3 separate regions of the Homo sapiens genome follow, and regions 1 and 2 are each linked to region 3. Evidence: promoter capture Hi-C in human tissues and cell types (Jung and others, 2019). All regions are on one chromosome and are shown on one strand. The core of a region is centred on a gene start or on the middle of the fragment in contact, and the rest is flanking DNA. Distances in the headings are between cores, read along the strand shown.

Region 1 (2,817 bases), core at 316-2,815, 280 kb before region 3:
GGGAGCCTGAGGCAGAAGGACAGCATGAGCCCAGGAGTTCGAGTTCAGCATAAACAACACAGGATCTTAAAAAAAAAAAAAAAAAAAAAAAAAACTCTGCCACATGATACATCACTTCACACCCACTAGGATGGCTATTATTAAAAACAAACTGCCGAGCGCAGTGGCTCACGCCTGTAATCCTAGCACTTTGGAAGGGCGAGGCAGGCAGATCACTTGAGCTCAGGAGTTCAAGACCAGCCTGGCCAACATGGCGAAACCCCGTCTCTACAAAAAATTACCAAAAACGATTAGCCAGGCATGGTGGTATGTGCCTGTAGTCCCAGCTACTTGGCGGGGGTGCTGAGTCAGGAAGATGGCTTGAACCTGGGAAGTCAAGGTTGCAGTGGGCCAAAATCGCACCACTACACTGCAGCCTAGATGACAAAGTGAGATCCTGTCTCAAAAAAACAAGCAAACAAAATAACAAATGCAAGGATGTGAAGAAATTGGAACCCTTGTGCATTACTGACGGGAAAGTAAAATGGTACAGCCATGGGGTTCCCCAAACGCTAACTTACCACTGAACCAGCGATTCCACTATGGTTATATACCCAAGAGAAATGAAGACGGGAACTCAACTAGATATTTGTACACTCACATTCATAGCATGTTCAACACCCAAAAGGTGGAAGCAACCCAAGTGTCTATCGACAGATGAGTGAGTCAACAAAATATGGTATACACACAAAATAGAATATTATTCAGCCTTTTAAAGAAAGGAAATTTTGGCTGGGTGCAGTGGCTCACGCCTGTAACCCCAGCACTTTGGGAAGCCAAGGTGGACGGATCACCTGAGATCAGGAATTCAAGACCAGCGTGGCCAACATGGTGAAACCCCATCTCTACTAAAAACACAAAAAAATTAGCCAGGCGGTAGTTGCACATGCCTGTAATCCCAGCTACTCGGGAGGCTGAGGCAGGAGAATCGCTTGAGCCTGGGAGGTGGAGGTTGCAGTGAGCCAAGACTGAGACACTGCACTCTAGCCTGGGCAACAGAGTGAGACTCTGTCTCAAACAAAAAAAAAAAAAAAGAAAAAAAGAAAAAAAAAATTTTGACAAATGCTACATCATGAATGAACCTTGAAGATATTATGCTAAATGAAATAAACCAGCCATACCCAAAAAAGATTGTATGATTCCATTTATAGGAGGTACCTGGAGTAGTCAACTTCATAAAGGCAGAAAGTAGAATGGTGGTTGCCAGGGGCTGGGGGAAAGGGAGAATTGGGAGTTATTATTTAATGGGTATAGAGTTTCAGTTGAGGAAGATGAAAAAGTTCTGGAGATAGATGGTGGTGATGGTTGCAAAATAATGTCAATGTATTTAAGTGCCACTGAACTGAACACTTAAAAGTCGTTAAAATGGTAAATTTTATTTTACACACACACACACACACACACACACACACACACACAAAGATAAATTAAGAAGTAAAATACAAAGTTAGTGGTCACTCTCCTTTGTTCCTTAGAAAAAGATAAGCGATTCCAAACCAGTCAAAGTAAGCTACCTGCTGCTTTTTGCCCACAATGCTCTGCTCAATCAAGGGGTCTCACAGCCTGTCTTTCCCAGGTAAACTTCCTCAGAGATGACATCAGGGCAATGAGTCAGACCTAACTGGTGACTGTGCAACTATTACAAAAGAAACGGGGAAAGCATTGCAGGACTCAACTGTATAAATCATCAATGAAGCCCTTTAGAGCCAAAGTTATTGAAAAGCGATCTAAACTCTTTAAATTTAGGATAGTATTAAGAAAATGCTGTGTTGATACATTAAAAAGCAAAAATGCGGCCAGGTGCAGTGGCTCAAGCCTGTAATCCCAGCACTTTGGGAGGCCGAGGCAGGTGGATCACCTAAGGTCAGGAGTTTGAGACCATCCTGACCAATATGGTGAAACTCCATCTCTACTAAAAAATACAAAAATTAGGCCAGGCGTGGTGGCCCACGCCTGTAATCCCAGCACTTTGAGAGGCCGAGGCGGGGGGATCACCTGAGGTTGGAAGTTTGAAGACCAGCCTGACCAACTTGGAGAAACTCCGCCTCTACTAAAAATACAATATTAGCTGGGTGTGGTGGCTGGTGCCTATAATCCCAGCTACTCAGGATTACAAGCAGGAGAATCGCTTGAACCCAGAAGGCGGAGGTTGCGGTTAGCCGAGACTACGCCACTGCACTCCACCCTGGGCAACAAGAGCGAAACTCCGTCTCAAAAAAAAAAAAAAGAAAGAAAAATTAGCCAGGCATGATGGCGTACGCCTGTAGTCCCAGCTACTCGGGTGGCTGAGACAGGAGAATCGCTTGAACCCAGAAGTGGAGGTTGCAGTGAGCCGAGATTGAACCACTGCACTCCAGCCTGGGCGACAAAGCGAGACTCCATCTCCAAAAAACAAAGTTTTTATTATGTAACCAATATTTTAATTTCAACTTTGTTTGGTCTATCAGATTTCTCCGGTCATCAGAAACTACAAAGATTTCTAACGGGAAAAGAGCTGATATGATAATGATTAACTGAATTAGTAGAGTGAAACTGACAAAGGAAGAAAGCTTTCTCTTACTAGACAAAGCTGGAGGTGGAAAGAGAACCATAACCAACCACCAACACTAATGTTTCTTTTCTTTCACGACAAGGTCTCGCTCTGTCATCCAGGCTGGAGTGCAGAGGTGCACTCATGGCTCACTGCAGCCTCAACCTCCTGGGCTCAAGCAATCCTCCCACCTCAGCCTCCTAAGTAGCTAGGACAACAGGCATGCGCCACCACACCAGGCTAACACT
Region 2 (2,868 bases), core at 30-2,529, 320 kb before region 3:
CCATCCCTGCGGCCCCTTCCCACAAAGGCAAGAGAGAACCTTGCTCCCCCAGGAGAGAAGCCTTACCTGTGTGATAAGTGTGGGCGTGGCTTCAACCGGGTAGACAACCTGCGCTCCCACGTGAAGACCGTGCACCAGGGCAAGGCAGGCATCAAGATCCTGGAGCCCGAGGAGGGCAGTGAGGTCAGCGTGGTCACTGTGGATGACATGGTCACGCTGGCTACCGAGGCACTGGCAGCGACAGCCGTCACTCAGCTCACAGGTGCGGGCTGTGGGCAGCAGAGGGAAGTCACAGGCAGCTTGCTGCCAGGGTGGCGATGATGGGGCAGTGCCCGTGCCTTCACCTTAGGCCCTGCGACTCTGCCCGCAGTGGTGCCGGTGGGAGCTGCAGTGACAGCCGATGAGACGGAAGTCCTGAAGGCCGAGATCAGCAAAGCTGTGAAGCAAGTGCAGGAAGAAGGTGAGGGGGGCCACCCGGGTGTGAATGTGGGCAGAGCCCGGGGTCCTTCCCACTCTGACTGCTGCCCCACCTCCACAGACCCCAACACTCACATCCTCTACGCCTGTGACTCCTGTGGGGACAAGTTTCTGGATGCCAACAGCCTGGCTCAGCATGTGCGAATCCACACAGCCCAGGCACTGGTCATGTTCCAGACAGACGCGGACTTCTATCAGCAGTATGGGCCAGGTGGCACGTGGCCTGCCGGGCAGGTGCTGCAGGCTGGGGAGCTGGTCTTCCGCCCTCGCGACGGGGCTGAGGGCCAGCCCGCACTGGCAGAGACCTCCCCTACAGCTCCTGAATGTCCCCCGCCTGCCGAGTGAGCTGGCGGCCCTTCTGACTGTTTATTTAAGGATGGATGGCACCCTGGAACCGGGAAGGGTGGCCTGTTCCCTAGAGAGAATAAATTGGATTATTTTCTAATGCTGCCTATAGGTCCCTGTGGGGTGGGTGGGGAGCTGGCAGCTACAACTGATGCCACAGAAAGGCTGTACCACCCAGGAACCAGCCTTCCTGGGAAGGTCAGCCCGTCCCTCTTGCTGAATGCGACTAGAATCAGAGCCAGGCTGGCTGCTTTGCCCCAAGTTGAGGAGTGGGCAGTACACTCAGGCTGGAGAGACCTCGGCACCACGTGCCCCATGCCCTCATCCCATCTTGTTTGGAGGCTTCTCACCTGTTCATCTTTAGGGCCTGGCCTCCCCTCGCCCCACAGCTATGACCCTGCTCCCCCTCGGCCCAGGTTGGGGAGAGGTTGGGAAGTTGGGGAAGGGACCAGCAGGGGCGGCCACCAACTGCTTACCAGGGTACAGGCAACCCAGAGCGAGCCTGGCTCACAGGCCACTGCTGCCAGGCCTGGCTCAGGGGTCCTTCCAGCCAGAGTGGCAAGGTAGGCCAAGGAGAGTGCCAGGCCCAGGCCACTGCCCTGGCTCTGATGGGCCTAAGGGAGCAGATGGAAGCCACACTTGCTTCAGGGTTACCTGGCCCGAGGACTAAGGCCAAGCCGGTGCCATCATCTTTTGGGAAGGTTCAAAAGATGGCATCTCTGCCACCAGGCTGGGGGCCCAGAGGGACAGGAAGGAGCAGCCAGGGGCTTTGATGGGGAGGTAGGGAGCTGGTGGAACAGCTTTCTCACTCCTGTCAGCAAGGAGTCAGGAGGTACCATCTCGTCCCCCCACAGTGGCCCCGGCATCTATGGCCCACCGTTCAGAGGGGGATGCTATCTTCTCACACCAGGACAGGCCCATTTGTAGGAGCCCATTGGTATTCCAAGTGAGACCACCAACTTTATAGTCCCCATGTCCCTGTCCCAACTCCACAGCTTCTAGAGAATCCAGCTGCAGGGGAAGCCTGTCCCCAACTCCCATTCTCCTGTCTGGAGGCAGAGACGGGATCAAATGAGCCCCCAGGGGCCCCAGGAGGCCACTGCCTCTGCAGGAGTCAGCCTGCTTCACACTGGGAGAAGGGAAGAGGGGGCAAGAGAGAGACAAGAAACCAAAGCTTGCTAAAATGTTTCTGAGATGGCATGGGGTGTGGTTATATTCTGTATCAAAATTGGAAGTGCCTTCCTTCCACATTACCTAAGAACCAGTTAGGACTCTGAAGACACCACAAGAGTGAGAAATGGTTAAGTTCAGTGTCCGTGACAAAAATCTCCTTTGTACAAGATAAAATTATCCTTGGGGAGGAGGACTGACTGACTAGGAGGCAGAAGGGAAACAGTTCCCATGTACAGACTTGGCATGGGGATCAAAAGCGGGATGAGGGCTGACTGTTCCCATAAGCCAAGGACCCATGGTTCGTCCTCCCACCCAAGTGACAATCACACTCACACTTGGTGTGTTTTATATTTTTTAATAAAGTTTGTAATCCAATGGACACACAAAACAAAACTGCGCTGAGAAAAACAGTTTCATAAATTAATAAGTGTTAGGAAGTTGGGGGAAGAGATCAAGGTAATAGGAAGAGGGGTTAGCCAGTCTTTTTGTACAGGTGCCGTGTGACACTTCCACATCGCGGGAGCAGGACCCGTGCTGTACCGAAGCGCACTTATACAAATGAGTGGGCAATACAAAGTCTGAATATGAAAATAAGATTTCCTCTGAAAACACATTTTTGGCACAGATTAAAAAAAACGTATGTCGGGGGATTTGATTTTTTAAGTCAGTATTATATATATTTATATATATTATATATTTATATATACACACATCCCAAGTTCTGCATATCCCACCAAGAGAAAACCTTTCTGTTTGCTCTTCAACTGTAAACTGTACATCCCGGTGAATCAAAGACGGTGGCAGCAGGAGAATTAAGGTGACGCATCCAAATGAGCAAGGGAGATGGGGGTGGACAAAAAAAACCAATGAAAT
Region 3 (2,745 bases), core at 197-2,696:
AACAAGCTGCAGTTGGGCAATCGTTTTGTAAACTATTTCATAACTGCAGTAGAAAATCAAGATTTACTTGATGGAGACTTGGGAGACCTCTATAATTTTCTTAATGTTTAGACTATTTCCTCCAGGCTAAATTTATTAAGTCATGATCTAAGTGTTTTAGTGTAAAGTTTACAGCGTTAGTGTCACCGATTCTGTTTGATAAAGACTAGGGGCAGCCCCAAAGCATTTTGAGAATTACTTTGCTTAGTTAAAATATGAGAGGCTGAACTTCTTTCCAGCAAGCTGAGTAGGGAAATGAAACCACCAAACAGCACTGATACTAGGCCGTTTCCAAGCAAATATCCTTTTAAAGCATTGAGCTTTGAACTGACCCAAACTCTGAACTGTGACCTGAAAGAAAAAGGGCCTTCTGGCTTACTACCAGGGTAGAACCGAAACAAACAAACAGCTTGAGTTGAACCAATAGGTACTGTTTTTCAAAAGAATTTAACCAGAAACGCATGTGGTGGGTAAAGAGCATTTCCAAAGACCCCAAAATGAGGTAGTGCAAGTCTTAAACTTTTTCTTTCACCGGAAGTGCAAATCTGTGCATTTAAAGGTAAACTGCGTATATTTAAGCAGAAACCCTCTCCAGAAAAAAAAAAAAAAAAAAGCAGAGGAACATCTATCTACCACAGTGATCCAAACTGGTATTTCTGGTTTGCAGGATGTATGAATCCTAGCAAACCCAGGGCTGCTTCTGAGGTCCACAACGATATCCTACACTCGGGATTAGAAACAGGGAAGGGCCAAAGAGCCAAAGGTGGGGAGGGTTAGCGCTGCTCAACAGTCCACGCGCCCCTCACGCTGCAGTGGGTGCGTCTGCGGTCAGGTTCTCCGCTCCCTCTCCTCGTACCCCACCCCATGCTCGGAGTGTGTGAGGGCAGCTACTGATGCCAGCTCCCCAGCTCCTTTCCGGATGCGGGGGTGACCTGAGAATGGCTATCCTTGCTCCCCCCAGCCCCCAATTCTTCACCAGTAGCAAAGGGAGGGAGTGAGGCCCCGAGGCGGGGAGGGCTTAGCTCCGGGGCAGGCCCGGCTCGCTGCCCGGCGTACCTGGCTCTCGGCTGCGGGGATGCCAGACTCGAGCTCGCACAGCGCGCGGAAGTTGTGCAGCTCGAAGTCGGCGTCGACCTGGAGGGAAAAGGTCACCTCGGAGAGGTCCCTCCGCACACAGTACACGGTGAGCAGCATGGCCCGGGCCCGACCCGGCTCGGCTCGGCTCGGCCCGGCCTGGGCGCGGGGCGCAGGGGAAGAGGCGGCGGCGTGGCCTGGCTGGTGCTGCGGGAGGACGGCGCCGGCTGCTCGTTCGCTCGCTCGCTCCCTCCCTCACACACGCTCAGTGAGTCACTCCCTCCCGCCCTCACTAGCAAGCACGGCCGCCGCCACACGCCTGCGAGTCCGTCTGCCTGCCGGCCTGCCTCCCACGGCTGCCGCCAAGCGCGCCGGCCGCCCGGCGCCCCGCCCCGCCGCAACGCGGCTGCCGTAAAGCCCGCCTCGCCTTCCCCGCCTTCGCAACGCAGCGGGGGGCGGGGCCGGGAAGAGGAGGAGGAAGCCAGGAGAGGATAGGAGGGGGAGGAGTGGGAAGGGGGCGTGGAAGAGGAGAGGGAGGAAGGGCAAGAAAAGGGGAGGGAAGGAAAGGAACGCGGAGAAGGAAATCTCTGCTGACTGGTTGACTTAATGACAGAAGTCTGTGGAGGAGTCCCCGGTCTTATTTATTCACCGAACAGGCATTGATTAAGCGCCTACCATGTGTCGGGCGCTGGCGATGCAGAAATGAATAAAAGGATAAATCCTTCTCCGTAACTCTCAATCTAGTACAGGAGTTAGTAATAAAACATATTTTTCGAGGTAGAAATTGAGGCTCCGACAGAGTAATTCACTTCCTGTCTTAGTGATTTAGGATTGAAACCAAAATCATTACCCTCCCTAGTCTACAGAAGCCAGTTGGCTGTGGCCCACGCCTACCTCCCCAGCCCCTTCTTCCGAGCTCTTCCCACATTCTCTGCCCTCCCAGCCACATAGGTCAGTTCCTCCAAGGCTCCATTCCCCTGTCTTGTAAATAATTTTCTCTCTACTTGGACTGTGTCTGTTTCCTAGCCCTAGCAACTCCTACCACCTAGCGCAGTGCCTTTTTGGGCACAGCTTAGAATCTACTCAATAAATATTTGCTACTTTAATGGCCTGTTTTTAAGGCACACAGCTGATGAGTGGTAGAGGCCCAGAACTAAGGTGCGGATGAGTAAGAAAACCAAAACTGAAAGATGAACTTGTAATGGATGCCAGATTAGCATCTTTCCATTTACTCCCACTCCCCCTCCATGGTAGGGAGCCCTTTTCCATTTTAACAGGAGAGAAGGAGCAAATAAGATGGCTGTGGGTGCAGGTAAGTAGGTAGTAAGTAGGCTGTTGGTGGCAGGAAAGGGAGAATTAGCAGCTGAAGGCTTTTACAAAGAGAAATTAGAGGAGCTGGGCGCGGTGGCTCACGCCTGTAATCCCAGCACTTTGGGAGGCCAAGGCGGGCGGATCACAAGGTCAGGAGTTCGAGACCAGCTTGGCCAATATGGTGAAACCCCGTCTCTACTAAAAATACAAAAATTAGCCGGGCATGGTGGCGGACACCTATAGTCCCAGCTACTCGGGAGGCTGAGGCAGGAGGGTCACTTGAACGCGGGAGGCGGAGGTTGTAGTGAGCCGAGATCAGGT

What was found. Contacts are between HindIII fragments. The study calls those that stand out against the background at their distance.
Region 1: a fragment that was not itself captured here is called in contact with the fragment with the promoter of DDI2 in region 3 in 2 of the 25 tissues and cell types used here (aorta and dorsolateral prefrontal cortex).
Region 2: a contact is called between a fragment that was not itself captured here and the fragment with the promoter of DDI2 in region 3, in 1 of the 25 tissues and cell types used here (dorsolateral prefrontal cortex).

The regions. Positions count from the first base shown.
Region 1 is chr1:15,896,815-15,899,631 of GRCh38, reverse strand. The region is part of intron 3 of SPEN (spen family transcriptional repressor); the gene reads right to left. Among named protein-coding and RNA genes, the nearest start is that of SPEN-AS1, 50 kb to the right of the region's middle. The HindIII fragment of the contact is 7,337 bases long and covers 1-2,817 here.
Region 2 is chr1:15,939,923-15,942,790 of GRCh38, reverse strand. SPEN (spen family transcriptional repressor) reads right to left here. Exons shown (of 15, transcript NM_015001.3): 15 at 2,335-2,868. It overlaps ZBTB17 (zinc finger and BTB domain containing 17), which reads left to right. Exons shown (of 16, transcript NM_003443.3): 14 at 53-262; 15 at 371-460; 16 at 539-922. The coding sequence ends at 822. Among named protein-coding and RNA genes, the nearest start is that of ZBTB17, 35 kb to the left of the region's middle. RefSeq lists an enhancer at 1-667. The HindIII fragment of the contact is 9,342 bases long and covers 1-2,868 here.
Region 3 is chr1:15,616,159-15,618,903 of GRCh38, reverse strand. It overlaps DDI2 (DDI proteasomal shuttling factor 2), which reads right to left and starts at 1,446. Exons shown (of 10, transcript NM_032341.5): 1 at 1,096-1,446. The coding sequence starts at 1,233. RefSeq lists a silencer at 1,123-1,692. The HindIII fragment of the contact is 8,472 bases long and covers 1-2,745 here.